Linked DNA regions of Homo sapiens: regions 2, 3, 4, 5, 6 and 7 are each linked to region 1. The links are contacts of gene promoters, found by promoter capture Hi-C in blood cells and fetal thymus (Javierre and others, 2016). All regions are on one chromosome and are shown on one strand. The core of a region is centred on a gene start or on the middle of the fragment in contact, and the rest is flanking DNA. Distances in the headings are between cores, read along the strand shown. Region 1 holds the start of WSCD1 (WSC domain containing 1). Region 2 has its middle 150 kb from the start of NLRP1. Region 3 has its middle 180 kb from the start of NLRP1. Region 4 overlaps LOC105371509 (a long non-coding RNA gene). Region 5 overlaps LOC339166 (a long non-coding RNA gene). Region 6 overlaps LOC105371509 (a long non-coding RNA gene). Region 7 overlaps LOC339166 (a long non-coding RNA gene).

Evidence for each region. Contacts are between HindIII fragments. The CHiCAGO score rates a contact against its expected background, and 5 or more counts as called.
Region 2: a fragment that was not itself captured here is called in contact with the fragment with the promoter of WSCD1 in region 1 in 1 of 17 cell types (endothelial precursors); the score reaches 5.6 in endothelial precursors.
Region 3: a contact is called between a fragment that was not itself captured here and the fragment with the promoter of WSCD1 in region 1, in 3 of 17 cell types (endothelial precursors, M0 macrophages and M1 macrophages). The highest score is 10.1, in endothelial precursors.
Region 4: a fragment that was not itself captured here is called in contact with the fragment with the promoter of WSCD1 in region 1 in 7 of 17 cell types (endothelial precursors, M0 macrophages, M1 macrophages and 4 more); the score reaches 9.3 in endothelial precursors.
Region 5: a fragment that was not itself captured here is called in contact with the fragment with the promoter of WSCD1 in region 1 in 4 of 17 cell types (endothelial precursors, M0 macrophages, M1 macrophages and 1 more); the score reaches 13.6 in endothelial precursors.
Region 6: a fragment that was not itself captured here is called in contact with the fragment with the promoter of WSCD1 in region 1 in 3 of 17 cell types (naive B cells, M0 macrophages and M1 macrophages); the score reaches 5.8 in naive B cells.
Region 7: a fragment that was not itself captured here is called in contact with the fragment with the promoter of WSCD1 in region 1 in 2 of 17 cell types (endothelial precursors and M0 macrophages); the score reaches 11.1 in endothelial precursors.

What each region holds. Positions count from the first base shown.
Region 1 is chr17:6,068,407-6,072,678 of GRCh38, forward strand. It overlaps WSCD1 (WSC domain containing 1), which reads left to right and starts at 1,973. Exons shown (of 9, transcript NM_015253.2): 1 at 1,973-2,246. RefSeq lists an enhancer at 1,209-2,040. The HindIII fragment of the contact is 6,207 bases long and covers 1-3,890 here.
Region 2 is chr17:5,728,160-5,732,431 of GRCh38, forward strand. It overlaps the pseudogene LOC100128284. Among named protein-coding and RNA genes, the nearest start is that of NLRP1, 150 kb to the left of the region's middle. The HindIII fragment of the contact is 3,350 bases long and covers 899-4,248 here.
Region 3 is chr17:5,761,605-5,765,876 of GRCh38, forward strand. No RefSeq gene overlaps it. Among named protein-coding and RNA genes, the nearest start is that of NLRP1, 180 kb to the left of the region's middle. The HindIII fragment of the contact is 2,351 bases long and covers 585-2,935 here.
Region 4 is chr17:6,358,902-6,363,173 of GRCh38, forward strand. The region is part of intron 2 of LOC105371509 (a long non-coding RNA gene); the gene reads right to left. Among named protein-coding and RNA genes, the nearest start is that of AIPL1, 74 kb to the right of the region's middle. The HindIII fragment of the contact is 192 bases long and covers 1,879-2,070 here.
Region 5 is chr17:5,781,198-5,785,469 of GRCh38, forward strand. The region is part of intron 1 of LOC339166 (a long non-coding RNA gene); the gene reads left to right. Among named protein-coding and RNA genes, the nearest start is that of NLRP1, 200 kb to the left of the region's middle. The HindIII fragment of the contact is 570 bases long and covers 1,771-2,340 here.
Region 6 is chr17:6,340,129-6,344,400 of GRCh38, forward strand. It overlaps LOC105371509 (a long non-coding RNA gene), which reads right to left. Exons shown (of 4, transcript XR_934188.3): 4 at 2,391-2,743. Among named protein-coding and RNA genes, the nearest start is that of AIPL1, 93 kb to the right of the region's middle. The HindIII fragment of the contact is 5,958 bases long and covers 1-4,272 here.
Region 7 is chr17:5,797,905-5,802,176 of GRCh38, forward strand. The region is part of intron 1 of LOC339166 (a long non-coding RNA gene); the gene reads left to right. Among named protein-coding and RNA genes, the nearest start is that of NLRP1, 220 kb to the left of the region's middle. The HindIII fragment of the contact is 319 bases long and covers 1,661-1,979 here.

The DNA of each region.
Region 1 (4,272 bases), core at 723-3,222:
GCCTCATCTGTCAAATGGGCACATGAAGGCATCTATAGACTTATCAGTTTTAAGTGGGACAATGGGTACGAGAGGGCCAGGGCTGGCTTCATGGGTATGAGATCTGTGAAAGGCTCTGAATTCTGTGCTCAGAAGGGACCCGTACTGGTTTAATATCCTCCTTTTATCTCTCGAAATTCTTGATAGTGTTTTAAAAGGGGGCTCCATTTTTATTTTAGGCCCTTCAAATTATGTAGCTGGTCATGGAGAGGGCTTTGCAAACCAAACAGCATTGCGAGACTGCACAGTGGGTTGCTGTTATAAATCGTAACGACACACACATTCACATTCTGTAAAGGATATATATGTGAAGGGGGCTTTTCTGCAAGGTTGGGACTCTGAGGCAGCACAGAATTCGTCTCTCACTTACTGTATCCTCTTCCTGGGCTTAAGGATATTAAATCCAGGTGCCCCAAGACCTTCAGAGCATTCTGCCTTCATGCGGATGGTGCAGACTCTGTTCTAATTCTGCACTTGGCCAGACATAGCTATGCAAACTGCAGCGAGTCTCTTCCCGCTCTGGGCGCCACCTGACTGACCCGCGTAAGGAGGGACTGTGACTGGTCCCCAGGCAAACGCTTTCCCTGCCACCTGCACCTGTTGCAAGCCAGCTCCTCGGAGCCAGGCCAAGCAGCTCTGCCCCTAGCGGGAGTCGGAGGCATGAAACTCCCTTTTAGGAAGACGGAGTAAGAGGCACCACCACCTGCTCCTGCTGCCTCTGCTGTCCTCAGCTTCTGGGAGCATCTTAGCAGCCAGCTCCGGGTGAGGACAGGGTCCACCGGTGCACATGGCAGAGCAGGGCAGATGCTGTGACTTGGCGGCTTTGGGGGAACAGGGTGGGGCTCCTCCCTGGGAAAAATCTTTAGGTTTGGATCCAGCCTTTATTTAAAGAGGGGGATTGTGTATAGACTTGTGTGACTGTTCAGCCTCTTTCCACCTCGGTGCGTGTGTGTGTGTGTGTGTGTGTGTGTGTGTGTGTGTGTGAGAGAGAGAGAGAGAGAGAGAGCCTGTGGGTCAATGCCCAGTATGCCCCTCTGAGAGTGTGTCTGTTAGTAGACACCAGTGTGTGACATTGCTTCTGTGGGCAACTATGTCAAGGCGTGGGTTTGTCACTGTGTGCGGTGTGGAGCAGTATGATAAGCCGGCGGCCGACCCCCGAGTGTGTAGACGCGGGAGCTGGTGTCAGGGTATTTGTAGGGCTGCAATTCTGTGTAGGTCTGTCTCAGATTGTGTGAGAGTGTCTGTGTTCCAGCAGGTGCTTGTTTCTGAGTGTGAATGTGTGTGAAGCTGTGACCGTCTGTCTCTAGCTCTGCATGGGACGGTGATCCGGTGTGTGTGTGTGTGTGTGTGTGTGTGCGTGCGTGTGTGGTGTGTGTGTGTATTAGAGTGCACTCTAAACTGTGTGGCTGTGTGTGTACGTGTGCGTGCCTGTCACAGTGGCCCAGTCTGCTTCTGGGTGAGTGGGGCAGAGCCCAGAGAGTGTGTGTGTGAGTGTGGGTGTCGGTGTCTCTGGGAAGCAGTGATTCGGGATGTGTGTGTCAGGCAGTGTGCGGCTGTCGCTGTGAGTCTGCATGGGAGAGTGGCGGCGTGCTCTCCTCTGCGCGGCAGTGCCCCGTGTGTTTGTGGGTCTGTGTCTGGGTGTGAGCGTCATGGTGCGTGTGTTAGAGCCCGTGGGGCCCCGGTGAAAGGCTGTGGCTCTGGGTGACTGGTGTGTGTGTGTGTGTGTGTGTGTATCAGAGTGGGTGGCGGCGTCTCTGCTCGGCAGTGGCGCGTGTGGCCCGCCCCGCGCGCGTGTTCTCGCGGGCCGGGGCAGGGCGTGGGCCCCCTCCGGCGGAGCCGCGACCCCTCCCCCGGGCGGCGGGAGGTGCGCACCGGCGCCTCTAGGACCCGGCGGCGGCCGGCCGCTGTCCCCGGGCCGCGCGAGTGAGCATGTGCAGAGCCCGGCGCCCGCTCGCCCGCCCGCTGCCCGCCCCGGCTCCGCGCCCGCCCGCCCGCCCCGCCGTTCAGCCCGGACGCCAGCAGCCCCGGGGAGCCAGGCGGCGGCGCCCTGTGCCCGGGCGCGTGGGTCCGCTTGCCGCGGGCGGCCGGAGACGTGCGGGCGCCGGGGCTTCTGGGCTCCGGGCACTGCGGGGGGCTGCGGGCTCGGCGCCCGGGGAAGGCGGGCCATGGGCGCGGGTGCGGGCGCCCCAGCCGGCCGCGATCGCGGGGTGAGTCCTGTCTCTCGGCGCTCCAGCCGGACCCCCGCGCGGGCTGCGAGCAGGGTGTTCCCCTTGCCGCGGGCAAACAAGTTTGTGCAGACGCGGTTGGGAGCGCGGCGGGGCTGCACCTGCTCCGGCTGCAGGGCGGGCTTGCCGGGGGCACCTTCCCGGGGGCCCGGGGCGGCTCGGCCGGGGCAGGGGAGAGTGAGCGGGTGCGTGCAGGGGTTGTGGGGGGGCGGGGGCGGCGCTCGGCGCGGCCGGGATGGGGTGGGGGTGCGCGAGGCGCCGCACGAGCCGCGTCCCCCTCCGGAGTCCTGAGAGCCCGTCCGTCACCCGGGAGGGCGCTGCGGTTGGTCCCGGGGAGGGGGCGAGGGCAGGGTGTGGGGTGCGCACAGCTTCCCTCCTAGGCGGCGACGTTTACCCAGAAGCAGCTCCCTCTCGTTCCGCTACCAAGAGAGGCTTCCGGTCAGCGGAGGGTTTGCTCCGTCTCTTGGTGAACTTGAACAGAGGCAGAGGCAAAAGCAAAACGTATGTATTTTGTCCAGAAAATTACCTAGTGTAGAGCTTTGCGTCTTCGTAGGTGTGGACGGAGACTCACGACTGAAGGTTGCTAAATTGCGTTTTTCTTGGCTACTCAGGAGCGTACGTACCTGGCTGGGTCCCCTGCCTCCGGGTAACCTCGCTGGTGGTTTTCCTGAGCATTTGTGCGCCTGGGATGATGCCTGCTCTGCTGATCGGGAATGCGGGTGGGGAAGGGGACCGCTCTTCCTTCCGCTGAGCAGTGGGAAGGCTCATATAGGAGTTCTAGCCTCATAGCCCTGCACTGGGATCCAGCTGCTCCCCACACTGGCCCTGCCCCTGCAGCTCCCAAGATGGACAGATGCAGGACTCCGCTGTACTTTTCTAACATGAGATACCCGCATCCCTCTTGTTGCTGGAACAGCATGCTTAGGTTTATGGAGGCACTTGGTTTATCCCACTTTGGCATCAGGAGTGGGGGCCTTTCTTTTTTCCTCTGATTTGCCTAGGTTGTCAGGCACAGAAAGTGAGGGTGGTGGGGAGTGAAAGTTACAGGAGATATAAAGCTGGCTTGCCCTGCGCTGTTTGCAATCACCCACTCCTGGTGGCTGCAGGTGCTGGGGAGAGAGCTAGGGGAGGTTTCCTTGGGCTATGGGAGAATGAGGTTTGTCTCTCTCAATCATGCCCCCACCCCCACACACTTAGATTGGCCCTCAGGAGATCCTCCGGGAAGGGGCCTCAACCGGCTGCCAGAGCTCAGGGTTTCTAGGAGGAAGAGCAGGAGCTCTCCCAGGCATGGGATCTGAAGGAGGCTTGGCGGTGGTTGGGCTGGTGGCTGAGCCTGACTGCCTCATCTTCTCCGCCAGAAGGCTCTCACCTGTGGCTGCATCCTCCAGGCCTCAGCAGGGCCATTTCCACAGCTCCTCTGTAAAAATGCCTTCTTCTGGGGTGAGGGGATCCCTCTCTTCAGTGGGCATTGTGCCCTATGGGGTACTGCCCTGTGGCCTGTGGCATGTCTGGTTGGAAGTGAAGAGAAGCTGGGATAAGGCAGAAGGCCAGACTCCTGTCTCTTCCTCCTGTCTTCCTAACCGAGCAGAAGTGGATATTCAGTGCCACTAGTGGGTCTGCTGCTGAAGCTTGAGCCTCCAACCTGATCAGTTTGGCCAGAGCACTGGGGAATGAGTCACAGAGCTGGTTCCTTATGGCATCAGCCTGAGCAGGCGACTCAGAGCCTCTGAATCCAGAGCCTCCAGGCCCTGATGGAACCCCTCCGAGCAGGGCCTCTAGGGAAGTGGTGTTTCTCATTATAGAAGCTCCAAGCTTGTACTCCCATCCAGCTCAGACCCCCATCAGCCTTGGTGAGACCAGCTCCCTGACTCTTTCTCTGGAGGTACAATGAGGTCAAGGCCAAGGACTTTGGGGCAGCTCAGTGTTTAGACCTTCAGGGCCTTAGGCCTTAAAATGCAGGTGATAATCATATACACTAGCAGGGCCAGAGCTGGGCCCTAACATCCAG
Region 2 (4,272 bases), core at 1,324-3,823, 340 kb before region 1:
AGACTCATCAAAAAGCTCCTAGAACTAGTAAATGAATTCAGCAAAGTTTCAGGTTACAAAATTAATGTACACAAATCAGGAACTCTGCTATATTCCAACTGTGACCAAGCCGAGAATCAAATCAAGAACTCAACCCCTTTCACAATAGTTACAAAAAATAATACTTAGGAATATACTTAACCAAGGACATGAAAGACTTCTACAAGACAAACCACAAAACATTGCTGAAAGAAATCATAGATGACACAAACAAATGGAAACACATCTCATGCTCATGGATGGGTAGAATCAATATTGTGAAAATGACCGTACTGCCAAAAGCAATCTACAAATTCCATGCAGTTCCCATCAAAATACCATCATCATTCTTCACAGAATTAGAAAAAAACAATCCTAATATTCATATGGAACCAAAAAAGAGCCCACATAACCAAAGCAAGACTAAGCAAAAAGAACAAATCTGGAGGCGTCACATTACCCGACTTCAAACTATACTATAAGGCCATAGTCACCAAAACAGCATGGTACTATTATAAAAATAGGCACATAGACTAATGGAACAGAATACAGAACCCAGAAAAAAAGCCAAATGATCTTTGACAAAGCAAACAAAAACATAAAGTGGGGAAAGGACACCTTATGCAACAAATGGTGCTGGGATAATTGGCAAGCCACATGTAGAAGAATGAAATTGGATCCTCATCTCTCATCTTATACAAAAATCAACTCGAGATGGATTAAGGGCTTAAATCTAAGACCTGAAACCATAAAGATTTTAGAAGATAGTATCAGGAAAACTCTTCTAGACATTGGCTTAGGCAAAGACTTCATGACCAATAACCCAAAAGCAAATGTGACAAAAACAAAGATAAATAGATGGGGCTTAATTAAATTAAAAAGCTTCTTCACAGCAAAAGGAATAATCAGCAGAGTCAACAGACAACCCACAGAGTGGGAGAAAATCTCCACAATCTATACATCAGGCAAAGGACTAATATTCAGAATCTACAATGAACTCAAACAAATCAGCAAGAAAAAAAAAACAAACAATTGCATCAAAAAGTGGGCTAAGGACATGAATAGACAATTCTCAAAAGAAGATAAACAAATGGCCCCAACAAGCATATGGAAAAATGCTCAGCATCACTAATTATAATGGAAGTGCAAGTCAAAACCACAATGTGATATCACCTTACCCCTGCAAGAATGGCCATAATAAAAAAAATCAAAGTAATGGATGTTGGCATGGATGCAGTGAAAAGGGAACACTTTTACACTGTTGGTGGGAATGTAAACTAGTACAGCCACTATGAAAAACTGTTTGGAGATTCCTTAAAGAACTAAAAGTAGATCCACCATTTGATCCAGCCATCCCACTACTGGGTATCTACCCAGAGGGAAAGAAGTCATTATACCAAAAAGAAACTTGTACACACATGTTTATAGCAGCAAAATTCGCAATTGCAAAAATGTGGAACCAACTCAAATGCCCATCAGTCAACAAGTGGATAAAGAAACTGTGGTATATACATACAATGGAATACTACTTAGCCATAAAAAGGAATGAATTAATGGCATTCACAGCAACCTGGGTGGAATTGGAGACTATTATTTTAAGTGAAGTAACTCAGGAATGGAAAACCAAACATTGTATGTTCTCACTTATATGTGGGAGCTAAGCTATGAGGACACAAAGGCGTAAGAATGATACATTGGACTTTGGGGACTCAGGGGAAAGGGTCGGGGGTGGTGAGGGATAAAAGACTGCACATTGGGTACAGTGTACACTGCTTGGGTGATGGATGCACCAAAATCTCAGAAATCACCACTAAAGAGCTTATTAATGTAACCAAACACCACCGGTTCCCCCCCTCCAAAACCTATTGAATTAAAAAATTAAAAGTAAAAAAAACGTGTTTGAACCTAGTTATAATGATTTAAAATTCATGGGCCAAAACTGCAATTACTTTTGCACCAACCTAGTGCAACTCCACCCAGTGAGAGCAGAATATACATTCTCTTCAAACACACCATGAGGTCTTCCTGCAACCTTCCCTGATCCAACATGGCTTCGTGGCTGTGCAGCATCTCTGCAGTGTCACAGTGGCTACTGGAAGGCCCAGGCCTGTGCTGGGGATGTTGCAGCTGCGGCTGTGCTGCATTTCTATCCCAAGGACAACGAAGGCTACTGGTTCTGCTCCCTCTTTGTTCACAAAGTGGATCCCTGGAAGGATGCCCACTCTGCCCTGCTGTCCAAGAAGGAGACCAGCAACCTCTACAAGATCCAGTTTCACAGTGAGAAGCCTGAGTGCCCGGATGCCTATAGTAGGCACTGATGGAGGCAGCACTGTCCATACTGCACTAGGATGAGGACTACCCTGCTCCCTCATGGGCAAGTGGAACACGTGCTGTAGGGAGCAGGACCAGGCACTGCACCTGTGGAGGTTCTCAGGTGGCTACTCAGCCCTCGCGGACTGCATGACAAGGAGTACCTGGAGGTCCGGAAGGAGTGCAGCTGGATGCTGTTGTCCAGGAGACACCAATTGCTCCTTGAGTTCAGCTTCTGGAATGAGCCATAGCCCAGCGTGGACCCCAACATCTTATGAGCTGAGGACATGCAAGCTGAAGCCAGGAACCATGATGGAGTAGGGGAACAATTGGGGTCCTGCCAGCAGGTACCAGCAGCAAGTCCCAGCAGGAGAACCAGGAGGTGATCGTGGCTCCTCCCAAATAGGAGAGCTCCACCTTGTGCATCATCTCTGGTCCTATAAAGACCCACAGTCTTGGGAGGAGACCCGAAGTGCTGCCTGCAGGAAGAGGGCTTGGGATGAAATGTCTATTGTACAGTTCCCCTCGGGCAACACGTGGAGTCTTGGATCCTCTTGAGGATCCTCTTGAGGTCCTCTTGAAGACCTCACCTCTCCAGTCATGCTCCCAACACTTCTACCTTCTTCCCTTTCTCCCTCAGGGCAACCCTGGACAGAGGAGCACCCCAGTCCTACTGTCATGGTTTTCTCTTGGCTCTGGGAGGACTCTGAGGGTCCATGCTTAGCTCAGACAACGGGGAACTGAAGGATGACAAATTCTGAGGACTTAGAGCTCAGCTCAGCTCCTTCCTGCCTTCCCCTCCTCCCTCCTTCCCCCTGCTGGAAGTAGTTCCTAATTTCTCTGAATGAAACATAGCAATCTTCTAGGTCTGCTGACATCTTTTCCTAAGATTTCTCAGTCCCCAGCTATCACCACAGAAATCCTCGGTTTAGCTTAATTGCACAAAAGGAAGTATGTCCAGTGGTTAGAGGTGGGATGGGAGGGAAGGAGGTCAGGTCAGGCCAAGCCAGGTCCTCAGGAATTCCCTGATCTCCACTGAGCCACTGCCACCCACTTGCTGTTTAGTCTAAACCAAGTCCCTCCTGATGGGGAAAATCCTGGAACTGCTAAAAAAAACCCCTCAAATCGGCAAGGTCAGGAGGATGTCCAGACATTCCATCCAAAAAGACAGGGAAAAAGGATGGGACCCAGGAAGGATTTAGGGGCAGGAGACAGACATGTAACAGAATCCAGAAGGTACAACTTAGAATTCAGAACTTGAGTTTGAACTGCAGAATTTGGAATTTGGAATACAGAATTGGAAGATAGAACAGAGGTGACAGGCTGGGCGCGGTGGCTCATGCCTGTAATCTCAGCACTTTGGGAGGCTGAGGTGGGCAGATCATGAGGTCAGAAGTTCAAGACAAGCCTGGCCAACATAGTGAAACACTGGCTTTACTAAAAATACAAAAATTAGCCTGGCATGGTGGCATGTGCCTGTAATCCCAGCTACTCAGGAGGCTGAGCCAGGAGAATTGCTTGAACCCGGGAGGCGGAGGCTGTGGTGAGCCGAGATCTTGCAGTGAGCCGAGATCATGGCACTGGACTCCAGCTTGGGTGACAGAGCGAGACTTGGTCTCAAAAAAAAAAAAAAAAAAAAAAAAAGAAACAGTTGGAATAGAAGAAGTCTGGGGCATATCATTTAGATGCTAAAAAAAAAAAAAAAACAACATTTCCAGGACATTTTAAAGGTATTTGGAATCAGGGCTGTTGCTCCCGGTGGAGTAGGTTCCCAGGGAGACTGGGACACAGAAAAGAAGGGACTTGGAGTCCCGTCTGCTGGGCACTCAGCTCAAAGCTCACACCCCTGACGGACTCTGCTTGACGTTTACATGTTACCCTTCTCAAACGGGGCTTCTGTGCCTCCTGGAAATTTAGGTAAGCTTGGTTCAACCCTCCCAAGTT
Region 3 (4,272 bases), core at 510-3,009, 310 kb before region 1:
GAGACTGGAATGGCAAGAGCTGAGAAGATGTAGGTAGGAAGTTGACAGGCTCTGCTACAAGCATGATAATTTAGAAATAATAAGAAAAGGCCTGGTGCGGTGGCTCATGCCTGTAATCCTAGCACTTTGGGAGGCCTCCTCACCTGAGGTCAGGAGTTTGAGACCAGCCTGGCCAACATGGCGAAACCCCATCTCTACTAAAAATGCAAAAACCAGCTGGGCGTGGTGGTGCACACCTGTAATCCCAGCTACTTGGAGGCTGAGGCAGGAGAATTGCTTGAACCCAGGAGGTGGAGGTTGCAGTGAGCTGAGATCGTACCACTGCACTCCAGCCTGGGCATCAGAGCGAGACTCTGTCTCAAAAAAAAAATATTTAAAAAATATTAGCATGTAATTATTAATGGCCTTGGGGAAGTTCCTTAAGGTTCCTGAGCCTGTGACTTTATATTCAAAGTAGAGACAGTAATTCCTGCCTGGCCTTGCTCTTAGGATTTGAGGAGAGTCGTGTGTGTGTGTGTGTGTGTGTGTGTGTGTGTGTGTTTTGTGGACTGAATGTCTGTGACCTCCCAAAATCCATATGTTGAAGCTTAACCTCCAATGAACGTGATTGTATTTGTAGGAAGAAATGCCAGTGGTCTGTCTCCCCTGCCATCTGAGGACACAGTGAGAAGTCAGTCATCTGCAAGCCAGGAAAAGAGCCCTCATTAAATCCAAATCTGCTGACACCTTGATCTTGGACTTTCCAGCCTCCAGAACCGTGAGAAATAAATGTCTGTTGTTGCTTAAGCCTCCCTAGTCTGTGGTATTTTGTTATGGCAGTCTGAGATGACTAAGACAGCATGTGTGTTTTAAAGCAAGAAAGCAATATAAATGTACCTCATATTTCCTGGGTCTTTTTCAGCAGAGTGTAAAAATTGGGTTCTTATTAAGCATCAGTTCCCACTCATGGAGCAGGGACTCCAGCAGCCCTGGGGTCAGCTCCTCCTAGTGAACTGCAAGTGCACAGAGGGTATCTTACAGGTGCTCTGCAGTGAGTCCTCTCAGAGACCCTGTGGAGCTGAATTTCTCTCCCTCCCACTCTCTCCTCATTGTGGTGATATCTCTGATCCTGTGGATTCAGAGGAGAAAGCAGTGATACAGATGTTTATGGTGTCTGGCTCCAGACCACCAGCATCTGGTGCTGAAACTGGTGAGCCTTGGTAGCAACAGAATGAAGGACAACACCCTCAGCACCAGCCTGTCCAAGGCTCCAGGGATAAGATGAGCCAATATTCCCGTGAATCTAGGGTGACCAACCATCCTAATTTCCCTGGGACTCTCCCAGTTTTAGCACTGAAAGTCTCTTGTCCCAGGAAACTCCCCAGTCCCATGCAAATCAGGACAATTGGTTACCCTACTGCTAGTGTAAGATGTGTGTGGCACCCCATTCAGTTCCAGGCTGGGCACCTCAAGGAAGACTCCACCAGAAAATGAGCATCAGGAGTGCTGAGCAAAGCATCAACTCCTTCCCTAGCATTTTGTCTGGCTTAAAGCACCAGGTCCTCCTTCCTAGAATGAATCCCTAGAACTGTCCTGAGAAGACCACTATGAGGATGGCATTGAAGAGTCCATCACTTAGGCTGAGCTGAACCATTGACATGATCAAAAGGCAGCTCTGTCGATCTCATCAGTGTCTTGACAAGGAGCATTGGGAGCCAAGAGCCCTGTTGGTAGCCTGTGCTCAGGGCTACAGGACTGGGGAAGGGAGTTCCCCGGTGGAAGCTATACAACCTGCCCTTCTGCCATTCCCTGGCATTGACTCCAAGGAGGGTCATGACATGCTTCAGGGATGCCATAGCTCTCAAGCGGTCTGAGCTTCTAACTCAAAGTGCCTTAAGCGGTCTCTTTATACAGTCAAAGGCTGGGAGGTCAATGTCAAACTCCTCTTATGTCTGGAGTCAGAGGAAAGAAGCTACACCAAGAGATGAGAAACACATAGGAGAAGAGAGTCTGCTGCGGCATGAGAAGACAGGCAGGGAGGTACAGAAGATACGATGGGAGAGATAGACCGAGCCTGAGTCCCTCATCCCAGGCACAGAAAAACTCCGTCCCCCATCCTGGATGTAGACTCACCTCTCTCTGGCCACACACTGATCTCTAACCTTGACCAAACCCTGAGCTCTGACCTTTGACTCTTATCAAAGACTGAGACCCTGGCTACACACTGACTCTTGACCCCTGGGCAGCTACTGGGAGAGTCGTCTATGGACTTTGCAAATCTCTCTTTATGTAACAGCAGACACAGGCTCTGTGTTCATGCACGAGCTCGGCTGCTTTTCCCAGCGTCCATCAATGCCCCAATTACCTGCAAACTGCTAACACTCAAAGGAATTCTCTCTGTGTATTAATTGGGCCAAGCACACGTTAATCAGGTAACCCAGGCCCCCTCCATGCCTGCTGGTGTTATTTTCTCCGCAGAACCAGGTAATTTCATTGCTGGGCTTCGGTGAAAGTTGAAAAGCAGTGTCAGCTTTTTCTGCTCTTAATTAGCGCTGGGCTTTCTCCGGTAAGTCACTGATCATTATCAATGAGCTTGTAATTTTATGTCCCAGAATTAGAGACTGATGATTAAAAAGAAAATCAAAAGGCTGTGTTGCAGGTCCAATCTCCAAAGACACGGGCATTCTTTCAACCTCCATCATCTATTCCACTGTGACCTTTTCTTATAGCTTCACCGAGACTTCCCGAATTGCAACAACTCCTTCTCTTTGGGAAGGGGAGGGCTGTTTCTTCTTGCCCATCAGCAATGTAGGTGGCAGTGGCCAGCCCTCTGGCTGGTGGGGAGTAAGCTGGTGGCTTGTATGGGTTCTGAGGTTTTTGTTCAAAGAGGAGGCACACAAGGGATCTGGGAGCTCTTTTCTCTCCCTCGCTCCCTTTTGGTTCTGAGCACGCCTAAAGCTTTATCTGATCTCACTTCTGGGGCTTTGTACTTAGGACAGGGATGGTTCATGGAACTCTATCAGAACCAAACCAGGATGGCAGAGGCTCGAGTTCCACTGGGCTCCCGATGCTTGGTCAGGACCCTGAAACCCGTGCGCCTCTGTGGGGCATAGCGGGTAGTTTTGCCTGCACCCACTCCCCTTTCTTCTGGCCACAGCACCTTACTTTGCCCCCTCTTCTCTCAGTACATTAGTTAGGGTGACATCTCCCCCCACTTTCAGGGATGGTCTTGAGGCTCAGCCCTCACTGATTCTTGTATGCTCCTTTCCTATGGCCACGAGCCACTCAGGAACAGGCAGGTAGGTGATCCAAGGAGGCTCAATGAGATTCGGTTGTGTTGGAACTGTGGGAGAAGGGAAGCTCTCTTTGCTGCAGTTGCTAAGCCAGGAGGGGGTCTGCAGGGAGCTGCCAAAGTGTTCAGTTTGATGCTGATTTAAAGACCACACCGTGGGTGGCATTCGCGAAGGGGTATTGAATGGCTGCCATGCACTTGGTTTTGAGAGAATATGGGGACAGAAGATGCTTCAAATATTCTCGAGAGGGAAGGAAAGATAGAATTTATTGGTAAATCTCTAACAGATAAACCTCTAAATTAGTATACTGAATACATCATCCTTCCAGATGGAGGTTGCTGGCTTGTTCAAGCCTGAGATGTGGGTGCCCCCACCCACCTGACTCCCAGCCCCACTCTCTGGACTCCCTTCTAGTCACTAGAGTTCTGTGTTTTCTCTCTGCTCACATATATCCTCAGGAGGTGGCACAATGCACCTCAGAGCAGGGGGTTGGAGTCAGGATTCCTGTTTCCATCTGTTTGGGTCACTAACTAAATGGCTCTGAATAAGCAACATATCCAATACAAGGTTCCATTTTCTATTTTATTTTATTTTATTATTTTATTTTTTGAGACAGAGTCTTCCGCTGTCACCCAGGCTGGAGTGCAATGGCACGATCTCTGCTCACTGCAGCCTCCGCTTCCCTGGTTCAAGCAATTCCCCTGGCTCAACCTCCTGAGTAGCTGAGACTACAGGTGTGTGCCACCACACCCGGCTAATTTTTCATATTTTTAGTAGAGACAGGGTTTCACCATGTTGGCCAGGCTGGTCTTGATCTCTGGACCTCGTGATCTGCCCACCTTGGCCTCCCAAAGTGCTGGGATTATAGGTGTGAGCCACTGCGCTCAGCCCAGGTTCCATTTTCTACACTGGCTCTGCTTCTCCCACAACCCTACGCACCCTGCCAGACCCCCGGGCTGCACTCTGTCAAGTTGTCGTGAACTCAGACTATCCTGGAGTA
Region 4 (4,272 bases), core at 725-3,224, 290 kb after region 1:
AGTCTGGAAGGAAAATGAGTGCCAAAGTCTGCTTTCTCCCTGAAGGCTTCTGCTAACCTCCGGAAACGCTGAGGTTCTTCTCTGATGACTATCTGAGGTGTAGGGGACAGGAAACCAAAGCCAGTCATAGCCCAAGGCTGGCGATCTAATGTGAAATCCCTGCATAACGTTGAGGTTCACAGAGGCCAGACTCTAAAAGTGAATAAAAAGTAAACCTGGGCTGGGAGCAGTGGCTCACACCTGTAATCCCAGAACTTTGGGAGGCCAGAGCGGGCAGATCACCTGAGGTCACAAGTTCGAGACCAGTCTGGTCAACATGGCACAACCCACATCTCTACTAAAAATACAAAAGAATTAGCCAGGTGTGGTGTCATGCACTTGTAATCCCAGATATTCCAGAGGCTGAGGCAGCAGAATCGCTTGAACCCGGGCGGCAGAGGTTGGCAGTGAGCCGAGATCGCACCACTGCACTCCAGCCTGGGTGATAGAGCAAGACTCCATCTCAATTAAAAAAAAAAAAAAAAAAAAAAAAAAGAAGTAGTAAACCTGGATCGCCACAAAGAGGCAACAAGGAAACTTAACCAATGCACTCTGGCATGGGTTGGAGGGGGAAAACATTGTAAACACAGGCCACTTCTTACATAACTTTGAGATCCAAAATTATACTAGTTGTGAGATCCAAAAAACTTCAGGCAGTGCCCCTGGGCACTTCAGAAGCAAATAAAAATCCTCTCTGGAGAAACTCAACCTCAAAGAAGTCCCCAAGAATCCTCACAAATAAAGTCCCAAGGACAATAAGCAGCTTACAGCCCAAAATCACAAAACATAAAAACATATGAGGAAATAAAGTATCATGCGTAAAAACCTTCAGAGAAAAAAAAGATTCGCAAGAACTTTAGACATTGGAATTTTTCGGTATAGAATATAACATACACATAAATAGACACAGGAAAAAATGGAAGTTAAGCTAAATAGAAATAAAATACAATAATAATAATTAAAGGCCAGGCACGGTGGCTCACACCTGTAATCCCAGCACTTTGGGAGGCCGAGGTGGGTGGATCACCTGAGGTTGGGAGTTTGAGACCAGCCTGACCGACATGGAAAAATCCGGTCTCTACTAAAAATACAAAAAAATTAGCCGGATGTGGTGGCACATGCCTGTAATCACAGCTACTCAGGAGGCTGAGGCAGGAAAATCGCTTGAACCCAGAAGGTGGAGGTTGACGTGAGCCAAGATCATACCATTGCACTCCAGCCTGGGCAAAAAAAGCGAAACTCTGTCTCAAAAAAAAAAAATTAAATTCACTAAACATATCAGCTAGCAGATTAAACACCTGTGAAGAGAGAAATGGTAAACTAAAAGATCTGAATAAATGATCTAGGTGCAGCCCATAGAATAAAAAGATGGAACTATGGAAGAGGGATTAAACAAAGGAAATATGTCAAGAAGGTCTAATATAATGATCATCAGAGTTCCAAAAGAAAATAACAAAGAGAATGAGAAAGTGGCAATACAGGAAGAGACAATAGCTGAGAATTTTCCAGAACTGTTGAAAAACACCAATTCTCAGTTTAGGGAAAACCTGTGAATTCCAGGCAGAATAATATTTTTTTAAATCTCTATACTAGGTACATTACAGTGAAATTGCAAAATATCAAAGAAAAAGAAGACCACAATTAAGATTACAACCAACCTCTCAAACACTACAATGGAAGAGAGAAAACATGAAGATTATCTTCGTGTTGAAAGTACTGTAGACGTAAAATTCTATATCCAGAAACTTTTCTTTCAATAATGAGGATTTTAAAAGACATTTTGAGACAATAAAAACGGATAATTTACTAGTATAGGATGCCCACTAAAGGAAATTCTAAAGCTTATGCTTCACACAGAAGAGAAATGGTCCCAAATGAAAGGTCTAAAATGGAAGGTAGAATAATGAGATAAATATTGTAAAATAACTGGCAAAGTCTAAGCAATGACTGTACAAAACAATATATCATAATGTCAAATTCACTGGAATTTTAAAAATAGGCTAGAACTAGAATGTTGAACAACAGCTTGTAAGCTTGGAGGAAAGTAGTCCGAAAAAATTGTTCTAAGGCAGATTTTGTCTGCCCTCTGCCTCAAGGTTATATCCCAGGGATGCACTTTATAATGAAGGTATCATTTCCTCCAGAAGACAGGAGGGTGCTTGAAGAGTTGCTTAGGAACTGGGGGATCAGCTTCCTCTATTCCTTTGGCTCCTCCCTATCCAATCTTATTGCTCTGTTATGTTATTTTCTGCCTTCCTATCTTAGCCAGAAGCAGGAAATTCTACTTTTGCAATTCTGCAAGGCACATGGCTTATCCCATCAAGACTTAGTCTAAAGAAAGGGGAAGGGAGGGTTCTTCTGTCAACACTGCTTGCTCCTTCCTCTCTGTTTTCCAGATGAGCTGCTTAGACCATGTTTATTGTGGACTACATTTATGCCCTCCCAAGAGGCCATAAGGAGTAGCCAACATACTCTAATATCCCCGAAATATCTACCAATCCCCTGAAGTGCCATCCTCAGTAAGCACACAGTAACAATTTAACCAGCTGCATAGCTACTGATAACAAGGGCTTCCCAGCTACAAACTGAGGTATTCCCCTGTGCCTCATTCCTCTTCAGCTCAGCAATGCCAATTCCAAGTACCAATTTCTGCCACTTTTAGGAGTCGTTTGTAGGTAACGCAAATTCATCTCAAAAGACTTTAGTCAGGAAAGGAAATTTACTGGCTCATAGCATTGGGACGTCCGGACCTAGAGTTGACCAGGGTCAGAGACTCAAACAGTGTTCTCAAGACCCGTTTGCTGTTCACCCTGCTTACATCTCAGCTCCTTTTATAGATCACCCTCATTCTCTCCAACTGTAAATGGATATATCCAGCAAAGTTGGCCACAAGCAGCTTCACTTAATATTGTGGTTTATCTAAAATTCAGTTAATTGGGTGGGCTGTATTTTACCCGGCAACTCAATATGGGAGAAATCTGATTGGTCCTGCCTGAGTCACATGTCTATCCTTTGGCCCAATCCCTGTGGGCAGAATTGAAATAGCCCTGTAGCCAGGTTGTACAGGAAGCACTGAGATTGATAGTCCCACCAGAATGCCATAGGATGCAAGAAGAGCGGTTCCCAGTGAAGATAAAAATCTCTGATGCACTTTGGGAGGCTGAGGTGGTGGATCACGAGGTCAGGAGTTCGAGACCAGCCTGGCCAACATAGTGAAACCCCATCTCTACTAAAAATACAAAAAATTAGCCAGGTGTGGTGGTGTGCACCTGTAATCCCAGCTACTCGGGAGGCTGAGGCAGGAGAATGGCTTGAACCCGGCAGGCGGAGGTTGCAGTGAGCTGAGATCACGCCATTGCACTCCAGCCCAGGCGACAGTGTGAGACTCTGTCAAAAAAAAAAAAAAAAAATCTTCAATGAATAAAAACAAGAGACAACCAGACAAGCACAACTTTGGGGTTTACTGAAGGTTGGTGGTAGTGGTGGCTGTGTGGCTGTGGTATTATTTATCATGATTTTATTTGCCTCCTTCTTTTTCTGCCACTAGATTCCCCCAGACAACTGATGTTCCTGGTTAGGCTAAGTCCATCCAGGCATGATGAATCTGATAACCTTGGCCACACGAGAGGTGAGAAACTTCATTGGCCAACATGGCCAGCACGGAAAGGAGTGTTTGAGCCCTACTCCGTGGTTCTCAGCCTCAGCGGCATGTTAGAATCTCCTGAGGAATCCTTAAAAAGCATTGATGTGTGGGTTTCTGATTTAATTGGTCTGGGTACATCCTGGGCACTAGGAATTTTTAAAGCTCCTCAGATGATTCTAATATGCAGCCAAGGATGACAACCACTGTCTAAGAGAATGAAGCAAAAAGGGGGGAATATCAGGCTTGGAGAGCATCTTCTTATGGCACATCGTTGGAGTAAAAGTAGTTTAAACTGTTGATAATATGAAGAAATGCATAGAACACTTTGGTAAGTATAAGAAAAGCCCCATGTAAGCCGGGCGGGGTGGCTCACACCTGTAATCCTAGCACTTTGGGAGGTCAACGAGGGCAGATTGCCTGAGCTCAGGAGTTCAAGACCAGCCTGGGCAACACGGTGAAGCCCCGTCTCTACTAAAATATAAAAAATAAGCCGGGTGTGGCACCATGCACCTGTAGTACAGGCTACTCGGGAGGCTGAGGCAGGAGAATTGCACCAATGCACTCCGGCCTGGGTGACAGAGTGAGACTCC
Region 5 (4,272 bases), core at 806-3,305, 290 kb before region 1:
GATAAGGCAGAGTGGGTGCCTGGGAATTGAGCCTCGGTGGTTGGGGGTCAGGGGTGGGGTTGGAAAGCTAGTGAGGAAGGTGGACCACAGTACTGTGTAGATGCCTGGACGGGGGCTGCCTGGGATCCTCCTCTGAGGGTCTTGCCTGGGGACTCAAACCAGGATTCTATAGACAACGTCTTCACGTGGCAAGTTATTTTTGCTGTGAACCCACGTGGTCGCGCCTGGTAATTATAGGGTAAAAGGAATTAAGCAAGACATAATTTCTCCCCATCAAACCTGACTGTTTTACGTCTCCACCTCGCACCGGCAGGCAGGCTTTCTCCCTTCACAGGTGCCACTTTGATTTCAGTCACGTTGGAAAGGAATTTGAAACATCTTCAAAGTGATTAAAGAGAGGAAGTCATTGCAAATGTGGGCTAAATGTAATAATCACATAAACTGTTTATGGCCATGGAGCTTTCAGGAGGGAAGGCCTTGTGGTAGCTGACAGTCGGGGTGGGGCTGGGGCTGGTGAGAACAGTGGTGGCAGAGGTGGCGACGGCACTGCAGGTACAGGTGGAGGATGGCTCAGGTGCAGGTGGAGGATGGCTCAGGTGCAGATGCAGGTGCAGGTGGAGGATGGCTCAGGTGCAGATGCAGGTGCAGGTGGAGGATGGCTCAGGTGCAGATGCAGGTACAGGTGGAGGATGGCTCAGGTGCAGGTGGAGGATGGCTCAGGTGCAGATGCAGGTGCAGGTGGAGGATGGCTCAGGTGCAGATGCAGGTACAGGTGGAGGATGGCTCAGGTGCAGGTGGAGGATGGCTCAGGTGCAGTGCAGGTGCAGGCACAGATGCAAGTGGGGATGGATCTAATTGTAATATTAATTATTATTATTACAGCTACTGTTTTTTGAGCATTACTACTCCCTTAGTGCTGTCTCCTTTAACCTTCATTAGAGCCTCATGAAGTGAGCATGATGGTCCTTATAATAAGGGGAGCAAGGTCCAGAGAAGTTCAGTCATTTGTTGAAGACACACACCTAGGAAGGGGCAGGGTTTGGATGTGGAGATAGTCCCATCCCAATTCAAAACCACTCAGCCTCAGCTTCACTGTGTGGGGTCCATGGTCCACGTCTGCTCCCTATGGCATCCCAAGGGGACTCTTTCATGTTCAGGGAATTTGACCTTTGAGTCTAGACCTGGGACTGAGTGGGTGAAACCCTGGCTAATAATTCACCAAAGACTCCAAGACATAAGGGTACTCCTGTGACTCCCTCCCTCCATGCAGGCAAGGTCTTGCTCTGTTGCCAGGCTGGAGTGCAGTGGTGCAATCTCGGCTCACTACAACCTCCACCTCCTGGGTTCAAGCAATCCTCCTGCCTCAGTCCCCCGAGTAGCTGGGATTACAGGCGTGCACCACCATGCCCAGCTAATTTTTGTATTTTTAGTAGAGATGGGGTTTCACCATGTTGACCAGGCTGGTCTTGAACTCCTGACCTCAGGTGATCTGCCTGCCTCAGCCTCCCAAAATGCTGAGATTACAGGCGTGAGCCACTGTGCCTGGCCTCAGATGCCTTTATAAAGCAACTTTAGTTTTGCCTCTTTAAACTCACTTTGTAGGACTTGTTTTCCCCTGATCCTAATGAGATCTCCAGAAGGCCCTGCACTTCTCTGACCACATTTAGATCATAAAATGTTATCTGGTTGCCTCAGCCCCTTGGACAGTCTCAGTTCAGTAATTAGTATGTCTAATCTGGGGCAATACCCAAGGCTCCAAACTTCATTTAAAGCTTGCAATCAGGAAAGGGAGTTGGGGGAGATTTTTCTCTCTTTACTCCCTGCAATAGGTTCCTATTGAAGCTGCATCAAATTATCATGAACTTAGAGGCTTAAACAACACAGATTTACTGTCTTATAATTCTTGATTTATTATCTTGTGGTTCAAAAGTCCAAAATGGGTTGTCAGGACAGTATTCCTGTGGAGGGTTCTAGGGGAGAATCTACTTCTTTGCCTTTTCCAGGTCTCAGTGGCTGCCTGCATTCCTTGGCTTGTGGTCCCGCATTGGTCTGACACCACTTCCAGTTTCGTACCTCCTTTCCAGTGCATGCTTTCTTGACAACGAATCCCCTAATTTTGTATTATTTGCAAAATTGTGGATAGGCTGAGAATCTCCCAATTCCTTTTTCTTGACAGTTCTCTCCTCGATTTACCTCTTTCCTCTCATGTTTTACTATAAGCAGCATGAAGAAAACAGGCTGCACCTTCAACACTTTGCTTGGAAATCTCCTCAACTAAACATTCAAGTTCATCATGTATAAGTTTTGCTTTCCACATGACTGTAGGACACAGTTCAGCTAAGCTTTCTGCTTCTATGTAACAAAGGTCCACTTTCGTCCAGTTTCTAATAACACGCTCCTCATTTCCTTCTGAGCCCTCATTAGAAGCATCTTTAAACTTCTATTTCTGCCAATGGGCTGTTCACAATGATTTGGGTGTTTAGTAAAATGCTACATGTTTTATTATTGTGCTCCTTATTTCCTTCTGGTCATTCATGGTGGAGGCTTTAACATCCATCTTCCTATTGGCAGTATGTTCAAGACAATCTCTGCTTTCTCTATTGTGCCCCTCAATATTCTTTCATCCTCTGCCAACTGCCCAGTTCCAAAGCCATTTCAACATTTTTGTGTATTTGTTATAGCAGCACCTCACTTCTAGGTTCCAGAAATCTCTATCAGTCAGAGTTCAACCAGAGTAACAAGGCCAATGGGAGATAAATATTAAGAGATTTATTGCCTGAAATTGGCTTATGTGATTGTAGGGGCTGCCTAGGCAAGCCTGAAACTTGTAGGGAAGGCTTCCAGGAAGGGCAGGATGGAACTTGCAGGCGCGAGCTGATTCTGCTATCTGCAGGTGGAATTTCTTCTTCTTTAGGGAAGTCTCAGTTCTGGTCTTAAGGCTTTCAACTTATTGAATCAGGACCACTCGGATTATCTGGAATAACCTCCCTTCCTTAACATCAACTGATTATGGACTTTAATCACATCTACAAAATACCTTCACAGCAACACATGGATTCATGTTTGTTTGAATACGTGGGGATTGTAACCTAACCAACTTGACACATAAAACTGACCATCACCCTCGCCCATTCTCCTCTCCTCATCCCACTAGCTAATGAGGGATGAGTGAGGCTAGGAGGTGTGGACTAGGGTAAGGAAAGAAGAAAAGGGCAGGGATGGTTTTCATAACTGTGTGTATGGGGTGAGGGGAATCTGGCAATTATTTCCTCTGACATCAGCTGCTGTTTAGAGCCAAGCCTTTCTCTCATAGGTGCTGCTGAGAGTTTTTCAGACCCCTGGTATTATCAACCTCTGCTGGATAATGCTGCATAACAAACAGCTCCAGAACTCAGTGGCTTAAAACCAGCATTTATTCTCATGGTCATGGGTTTGCAGCTGTTTGGCTGGTTCAGACTGTTTGGCTGGTGGGTCTGCTTCAAGCTATGGGTTCAGGTGGCTGTGGCTCCAGGTTGTGGGTTTGGTTCTTGGCCCCTCTGTGTTCCCTGTAGGGCTCAGGCCCAGGTTCATCTTCTCAAGATGGATCACTGGGACACCAGAGGGCTAGCCCTGCCACATGCAAGCATATTTGCAGCCCTGCCTTGCTCACCTTTTCCCTGCTTTCAGAATACCCCTTTGGCCATAGCAAGTCACAGGCCTAGCTCAAAGTAAAGGAGCAAGGCACCTGTGAGCAGTCACCTGTGCTCACCAGGAGTCCATAGCCAAACTGTGACTATTATAAAGGAGTGAATCATCGTGACCTATGATGCCATATACTACCCTCATCCCTATTCTGGGATCTCTTTTACTTGCCCACTCTCTGTGGGCAGTTTATGACATTCTCTGTTGACTTCTGATTCCTGGGGATGCTCTTCCTCACGCAGACTGTCTTCTGGGGTCCTGATGCCCCTCCAGGCAGCCCTCTGGGTAAATTTCTTTTAAGACCACTCTGAACCATCTCACCTCTGCTCTCTACAATGCTGCCACAGGCTACTTCAGCCAACCTTCTGTCCTTTAAAATTTTCAGACACAAGTCAGACACCCATCCACTCCATCCCCCAAGCTCCACGGGAATTTGCAGCAAAACCCCTTGAAGCCCCTTTCACTAGCAACCCTCAACCTCCCCCAAGAGATTCCTGGAGTCTCCATGCCTGGCCAGGTTCCATTTGTGCAAGAAGGATCAATTGCCAAATTTGAAGTAATTGGAATTTTTTTCCCTCTAGTCACAGTCAT
Region 6 (4,272 bases), core at 548-3,047, 270 kb after region 1:
CGCCAGTGGTTGGAATCATCTAAAGAAAGACCTGATGATTATCCAGTCAACTGGAAGGTCCTCAGAGTCAGCCTCAACAGCTCTCTCTTCTTTGTACCAACACCTGCTTGTTTTCAAGATCTGTCCATTCTACATCCCAAATGCTTCCCCTGTGAATTCCTTCTCTCCATCTTCACCCAATTCTTCCTTGGTACAAGCTGGCACCCACAGCCTCCTTACTAACTGGAATTCCTACTTCCAGTCTCACCTTCTCCTCCCTGACCCTCACCCCAATCCGTCACCAAGTGTACTTGCAAAAAATCAAATACATGCTCATTAATGCCCTTCTGCTCACAACTTGTCTGTGGCTTCCCACTGCCCTCCAGGTAGATTCCAGCTTCCTGGGCATGGCATTCCAGGCCCTTCACGATCGGGTCTAAAGCGTGAATCTAAGGAAGAAGAGAGCTTATTTCTCATGCAGACCATTTGTCCCCAAGTGCTTGTGGGCCTCCACTCAAACCCTTCTGTGGAGGAGATGATGGCTTTATAGTTAGAATCTGTCATTTCCTAAAGTGGAGAGTGGTGGTGCGGGGTTGGGGGGGGGTGGTTATAATTATACGTACATTGCAAATTAAAGCTGTTATTAATCAAAGCATCCCTAAAAATATCAAAGACGTAATGTGACGTCTCAGAGCTCTTGTCCCGCTGGCTCCAGTGCAGATCCAAAAGGAAGCTGACCTTTTCCACAGCCGGATTATAAATGTCAGGATTGCATGGTACCATCCTTCAATTACTGTCACCTTGAAAGGGGAGAGCGCTGGAGGCCTCACACTTAAGTGTTTTCAATCACAGATATATTTCAAACACTGTCTCCTTGAGAGAGGAGCACTGGGCTCTGGAAGCTGGTACAGCCCCCACTGTGGCTTCTGTGTCACGTGCAGTGACCCAGAAAGTTAGTAACTTAAAAGACAATTTGGAGTTGATCAGAACTGCCCATTTAATCCCCTCCTGTTCCAACAAACTAAAGATTTAATTATTCTTCAATTGCTATTTGCAGAAGCACCACAGGACAAAGATGCCTCCATGAGGTATCTCCTAAATACAGATCACCGTAGATTGCTTTCCCCTTTACAAAATCACGTTTTTATTGTGCAGCTTTAAGCAAGATAAAAACTTTCCTTCTGGTCATATTTCTATTCTTCATTCAAAGTCTCCATGCAACAAGAAGGCAGAGAGGGTTGAGTCCAATAAGCAGGAAAAACCAATTCAATTTCCAGGCGGATCTGATGCTATGATATTTATAGAACACACATATCACATTAGCATCTTGCCATGCTATAATATAATTTCTTCATCTGTCTCCTGTAACCTATATTTACAGTAGGGATATTTTCCCTTCTGCACTTAACAAGGCATATTATTGAATTTTAGTTATTATAAAACATGGCCAATCAATATAATTCTCTGTTCCTCTTTTTTTTTTTTTTTTTTTTTTGAGATGGAGTCTCACTCTGTCACCCAGGCTGGAGTGCAGTGGCGCGATCTCTGCTCACTGCAAGCACCACCTCCTGGGTTCACGCCATTCTCCTGCCTCAGCCTCCCGAGTAGCTGGGACTACAGGCGCCTGCCACCATGCCCGGCTAATTTTTTGTATTTTTGGTAGAGATGGGGTTTCACCTTGTTAGACAGGATGGTCTCAATCTTCTGACCTCGTGATCCACCCACCTCGGCCTCCCAAAGTGCTGGGACTACAGGCGTGAGCCACGGCACCTGGCCTGTTCCTCTTTTTAACAGAACATCCTGGGTCTAATTTGAACTGGGAAGTCTGGCCCCATCACAAAGAGGAGAGTTGTAAATTCAACAGGCCTCACCAGGGAGCTTTGCTTCACTGTGGCCATCCTTCACAGCCAAATACATTCTGCTTCCAAGTTCGATGGTGCCAGAACTCCGGGTGGTCATCACGGTGGTCAGAGCCAGTGGACAGCCTGACCCATGAGCTCCACCAGCTGGTGGTTGGCCTATATCCTGGCCCATTTCACTCAGACACATGGCAGAACTTGTCCCTGCCTTGGGATCCCAGTGACTCAGATTCTTCACCCCCAGCCCCAGAAAGCAGGAAACAAGCATAGCTGGGAGGAGGATGTTTCATAGGGCAGACGTCGTTGATCTTAAACCCATTCTCCAAAAGCCTTTCCCATGCTTCAAAGGTTGATGTGGTGATTGTTTAGAGTGCAGTGAAAAGACTTTAGAGGAAACAGCCCAGAACCAGACTGTGAACCATGCCCAGTCCCTCCTCACGTCCACACTACACACAAATCCTGTTGGTTACGCCTTGAAAATGTACTGCTACATGCCCAATGGATGGGTTCAGTCTCTTCGTGGGTGCCAGCCCAATAACCACAACAAAGAAGGACTTAACAAGGGGATTTTATTACTTGCAGCAAGTAAGGGGACCACAGGGGATAATTCCTAAAACAGTGCCTCCTAAACAGAGGGCTGGGTCAGGTTTTATAGGCATGAAGTAATGAGGCATGATCTGATTGGATCTTGCAATGAAGTGATGCTGGGAGGCATGATCTGATTGGATCCTTCCATGAGATGATGCTAGGGATTGACCTGATTGGATCCTGGGTCCTGCCATGTCCACTTCTTAATTCAGTCCCCCGATCGTCAGTCCAAGCCCTTAGGTTCCCCCTCTGGCTGCACACTTGGTTCATCTGGGCATGCTCAGGTTATGTGACCTTCAACCTGAGGGTCACGGCAACTGAAAAACAATTCATAACTTTGTTTCTTACAAGTTGAACCAAGCTGGGCTCAGTGGCTTACGCCTGTACTCCTAGCACTGTGGGAGGCTGAGGCGGGAAGATTGCCTAAGCTCGGAGTTCGAGACCAGGCTGGGCAGCACGGTGAAACCCCATCTCTGCTAAAATACAAAAAATTAGCCGGGCATGGCAGTGTGTGCCTGTAATCTCAGCTACTTGAGAGGCTGAAGCAGGAGAATCGTTTGAACCTGGGAGGCAGAGGTTGCAGTGAACCAAGATCATGCCATTGCACTCCAGCCTGGGCAATAGAGCAACACTCCATCTCAAAAAAAAAAAAGTTGAACCAGATTGGAACCAGATTGGTCTGATAAGGTTACAGTATCAAGAATCCAAACATGTCTGAACACCTCCATGACTACACCCTGGTCCAAGTCATATCTCCCCTGGCCCTTTGCTGAGACCTTGTGACTGCCTCTCAGCCTTGGCTCTCACCTGCCCACACTCTATCCTCAACAGAGCAGCTAGACTGAGTCTTTTAAAACAGAAGTCCAGGCCAGGCGTGGTGGCTCACTCCTGTAATCCCAGCACTTTGGGAGGCCGAGGTGGGCAGATCACCTGAGGTTGCAAGTTCGAGACCAGCCTGAGAAACTCCGTCTCTACTAAACATGGAGAAACTCCATCTCTACTAAAAATACAAAATTAGCCAGGCGTGGTGGTGCATGCCTGTAATCCCAGCTACTTGGGAGGTCGAGGCAGGAGAATCGCTTGAACCTCGTAGGCAGAGGTTGCAGTGAGCCGAGATCGCGCCATTGCACTCCAGCCTGGGCAACAAGAATGAAACTCTGTCTCAAAAAAACAAAACAAAACAAAAAAAAAACACAGAAGTCTGATCCTTTCATTCTTACATGCTTCTGCTTCAAAGCCCTTCAGCGGGCTCCCCATCTCTCTCAGAAGAGAAGTCTCCCATGAGACCTACAAGGCCCAATGGCCTCCAGCTTCATCCCTCTCCCTCTCTCCATTTCAGCCCAGCTGGCCTCTGCTGTTCCTTGACTGAACAGCATGCCTGGCCCCAGGGTCTCCACTGGTGCGATTCCCTCTGCCTGGACTGGTCTCCCAGGACCCACGAGACCTGTTCCCTGGCCATTTCAGGCCTTCTCTGACAATCCACTTAAAATAACAGCTGCCCCACCCCAGCATCCCCACCCTGTTTGATTTTTCTTCAAACTATTTATCACCATCCAATATGCTAAATATGGTCCTTCTCCTCCCACTAGAATGTATACTCAACTAGGGTAGGGATTACTTTCAACTTTCTTGGCTTAATGTTTATTTCATTTCTATTTTCATGTTTTCTAACATTTTATCACTAATTTTTTCAAACATAAGGAAAACTCAAACAATTGTACAATGAACACTCACATACCCACCTCCCAGGTGCTACAATTGTTAACATTTTGCAACATTTGCTCTTTCCCATATCTAACCATCTATCCAACCCTCTATCCATCCATTAACCCATTTTGGTTTTTTT
Region 7 (4,272 bases), core at 570-3,069, 270 kb before region 1:
CTGCAGCATCTCTGGTCTGTCCAGGCTAATGATTCTCAGTCAGGGGTGATTTTGCTCCTCAGGGAACACTGAACAACATCTAGAGACATTTTTTGATGGCCATGTCCAGGAGGATGACAATGGCATTTGGTGATATTGTGGGCAGAGGCCAGAGATGCTACTAAACATCCTCCAAGGCACAGCATCTCCTGCTCTGAACAAAGAATCATCTGGTTCACGATGTCAGCAGTGCTGAGACTGAGAAGCACTGATCTAGGCTGGACTCTTAGGGGAGGAAGGGTAAGAATTTATCTGTGGGCTCCCATATCCTTTTGGTTAGAATTTGCTTCAAGGGATGCTAATTCCTCACATTTCTGGGTTGTTTGTAATGTGAGCTTCAATTGGGTCCCCTGGTGTCTCTTGTCTCTGCAGCAACAAGGACGTCCTGAGGTGGGAGGCAAGAGGCTTGGAGCAGGCATGGGGTGAGGTGGCGATGAGGGTTTTGAGCAAGTCCCCCAGGCTGCTGCAGGGGTAGAGTCCACAGCAACCTGACTCTGACTGTGACTTGACTGTAAGACCACAGGAATGGGACAAGCCACGGCTCCAGCCATTCCAGATAGAAATCAAATGTGCAGATCTGGGGTAGCTCATACACTGAGTGCTATATAGCCTCATCTTTTTGAGCCAAGGTCTCCAAGGCATGGTTTTCTGGCCCTCCTAGGGACTGTCTTCTATTGCGCCGGGTGCCCACCACAGGCCAGTTAGCCAGGGCTACATGTGGGCTAAGGTGGGGAGGGTCGTCGGGTAGAAAACATAGCTGCTTATTCAGCAGAAACTCTGAGTAGAAAAAATCTAATTAGAGTGAGAATGAGTGGGACTGGCAGTGATTAACATCTCAGACACACCGCACTTGGAAAATCTACCTGAAGTCCTTTGTGGAATGAGGTGGGTATGAGCAGTTGTGTGCTAGTAAATGTTAACAACTGGCTCTTTTGGAGGTAGGTCAGGAGATGCCTGGCTTTGTATGTTCATCACTTTTTGTGGTATAAATGCTCCTATTGTGGCCAATTTCAAGCTACCAATGGTTTAACAACCAGCTTGGAACTTTTCTGAAAATTCAACAATTGGCTCTTGAGAGCCAATATAAGCTGGCTGTATAGTAAGCCTGGTATAAGTAAATAAGTTAATTACAAATGAACAGCTTAGCATGATGGAAAAATAGTTGTGAAATATCGCAGACCTTTCTCTCCTCCAGCATGGCCTTCTCTCCAATTTTAAGCAGTCTGATCATTCTGTACTGATTCCTTCAGAGAAAAGGGGTATGTCAGAAAGGAAAGGGTTGTGAATTCTTTTCCTGAATTTTATGTTCTAAAATAACAGTATTAGACAGAACAAAAAGCTCCTTTGAACAGTCAGACAAAAATATTTAAGACCGGGAGACTGAGAAGAGTAACCACCATCTGGTCTCTGGAAGAGCAAAGATTCCAAACGCTAAGGGAAGAAAAGAACACAGGAGTGGAGGAGAAGCTGAGAGTATAGTTCCCTGTGTGTCCCGGGGGGAGCAATCTGGTCCCTACCTCCTGGGCAGAGCCCTGGGGAGGCAGCATGACCCCAAGAGAAGTTTGTGGGATCTGGGAACAGAGAGGACCTGTGCCCCACTCTCTGAGGGGGACCCCAGGGAAGCTTAGAGAAAGAAGTTATCGACAAGGTGGGACCATATGGTCTATCTGTAAAAATCCTGTTCCCTGTTGCGGTGCAGGAGCAGCTGAATGATTGCTGGGTTTTCAGACAAGCCGCAGAAATACAGGCCGGAGCTTGCAGACCTGAAAGAGCCAGATGAGAGACCTGCGAGGGGCAGAGAGGATGATGGGCATCTCAGAAGATGCTCGTGCGGATGGACGACATTGAACACCCAATTGACTTCGAGCTATATAGGAATGTGGCCACAACCCCAGGGAAAGGAGGGGGTCCCCTGAGATTGGTTTATGCACCGTAGCAGAAGCTTGAAATAAAGTTACAAAGAATTTTTTTGTTCACAGTGAAATTTGTGGACCATGATTGAAATTCAAGCCCTTTGCTTTAGACTAGGGATCAGTAAAGTTTTTCTGTAAAGGATCAGAGTAAATATTTTAGGCTTTGAGGGTCATATATGACCTTCTTCCTCTTTTTTTCCCCCTCTCCTTCCTCCTTCTCCTCCACCTTCTTCCTTTTGTTGCAACCATTTAAAAATGTAAAAACCATTCTTAGCTGGAAAAAGTCCCCTCAAAGTTTGTCCTCCTCCCGCTGCTCCCAGTCCACAGAGCTGCTGTCTGAATGAGGTTTTCCACCGGCAACACTACTAGATTTTAGAAAGCCAGGAAGATTCTCCTGCAACGAGATTCAGTTAGTACAAAATGTATTCGCTGACCAGGAGGATGACACTCTTCTCTGGCCACAGGCCACATGATGAAGCCTGCATCTGGCTGTGGAAGGAATCTTCAGCATGGCCGAAGTCTGCTGTTTCTTCCATCTTTGATCAAAACGGGGGCACATTTCCCTCACCCCCAGGGGACCAAATCCTCTCCCCAGGCGCACTTGCTCCACTCAATGCCTTCTCTCTCCCCGTCCCTGCCTTTGGAAGATCATCTTCCGGGACCCAGCAGCCCTGAGAATTCACGACAGGGTGTGGCTAGGGCTGGATGAAGGGTTACTTACAGTTTCTCATAAATGGACTTCTAGGCGGCTGGTTTCAGAAGCCCTCAGTGGGAAAAACCAGTCGGCCCAGTGATTTTTTATTCATTTTCCTTAGTTTCTGATTTAATTTTGAAAGACAACCCATGGACCCAGATGGAGAGATAGACCACACAGTGGAGGAGCTGTCTGGGTTGCCGCGTCATTGTCATGGTGATGTGAGCCACCGCTGTCTCCAGCACACCCTCAGAGCACTCCCTGGGAGAAGGTGCCAGAGCAGGATATAAAACCGACTTCTGAGAGGGAGGCGGGGCTGGCCAGGCTGCTCTGTAGTGCGGACTCAGAGGCAGGTCCAGTGACAGGCGGGTCTGTTCTGCACATGAACAACTGAGGAGCTGAGAACATCTGACCTGGACTGGGCCTCCTGAGTCTGTGGTAAGATTCTGGGGCTGAGGATGCCCAGATTGCTGCTTCTGAGGACTGGGCAGCTGCATCATGCTGCAGGCTGAGCCCTGACCCTGGCCTCAATGAGGACCTTGGTCCTGGCTATCTTTTAAAAAAATTTTTTTAAATTAATTATTATTATTATTATTATTATTATTATTATTTGAGAGATGGAGTCTCGCTCTGTCACCCAGGCTGGAGTGTAGCAGCGCGATCTTGGCTCACTGCAACCTCCACCTCCCAGGTTCAAGCCATTCTCCTGCCTCAGCCTCCTGAGTTAGCTGGGATTACAGGCACCTGCCACCATGCCTGGCTAATTTTTGTATTTTTAGTAGAGATGGGGGTTTCATCATTGCCCAGGGTAGTCTCGAACTCCCGACCTCAGGTGATCCACCTGCCTCAGCCTCCCAAAGTGCTGGGATTACAAGCCTGAGCCACTGCGCCTGGCCCGGTCCTGATTATCAGAGGAGCCCCAGTCTATCCAGACATCCCCGAGATATCCTCTGACCCCTAGTGACCCCTGCAGGTTAGGTCACAAACGTGTGAGAGCTCAGATGACTGTATGGGGCCAAGTTATCTGCTTTGAACAGAACTCAGAGCTGTTTCCTTCATTTTGAGAAAAGGGACAGGTTGGGAGCATTGTCTTTATATGCAAAAGACAATGTATTGGAAGGAAGCTAAGAATTTTCTTCTCAAATTGGGAGGACGGCAGTCCTGGCATCTTAATTTTATTTTTAGGATATTTTCTGCAAAAGAGGGGAGCGGGGAGTGAGGGGGAAAGCCCAATTCGTGCCCTCTTCAATTTTGAAACCATTAAACCTCAGGCAACTTGAGTGATAATCAGTCAATCCACAAGCAGCCTGTCAACTCATCAGTGCTTATGTACTTAACACCAGTGGGTTGGAGCGCGATTCCAGCTCTTCAGGAGGAACATGGATGGCCAAGTTGGGGCCCTGCTTTGGGGGAGTTTCAGTGAAGTTGGGCAGTGCAGTGCAGGATGTGGACATGCTTACAAAAGTCTGTAACCATAGGCTGGGCATTTCAGGGGGTGATCCAAGTGCTAGACTGGAATGGTCAGTGAAGGCTGCAGGGCGTGACTGCTGAGCTAACCTTGCCTCAGGTGGATAAACACATTGGACACTGGTAAGCCCTATTTGTCCACAGCTGCTGTGGATGCTC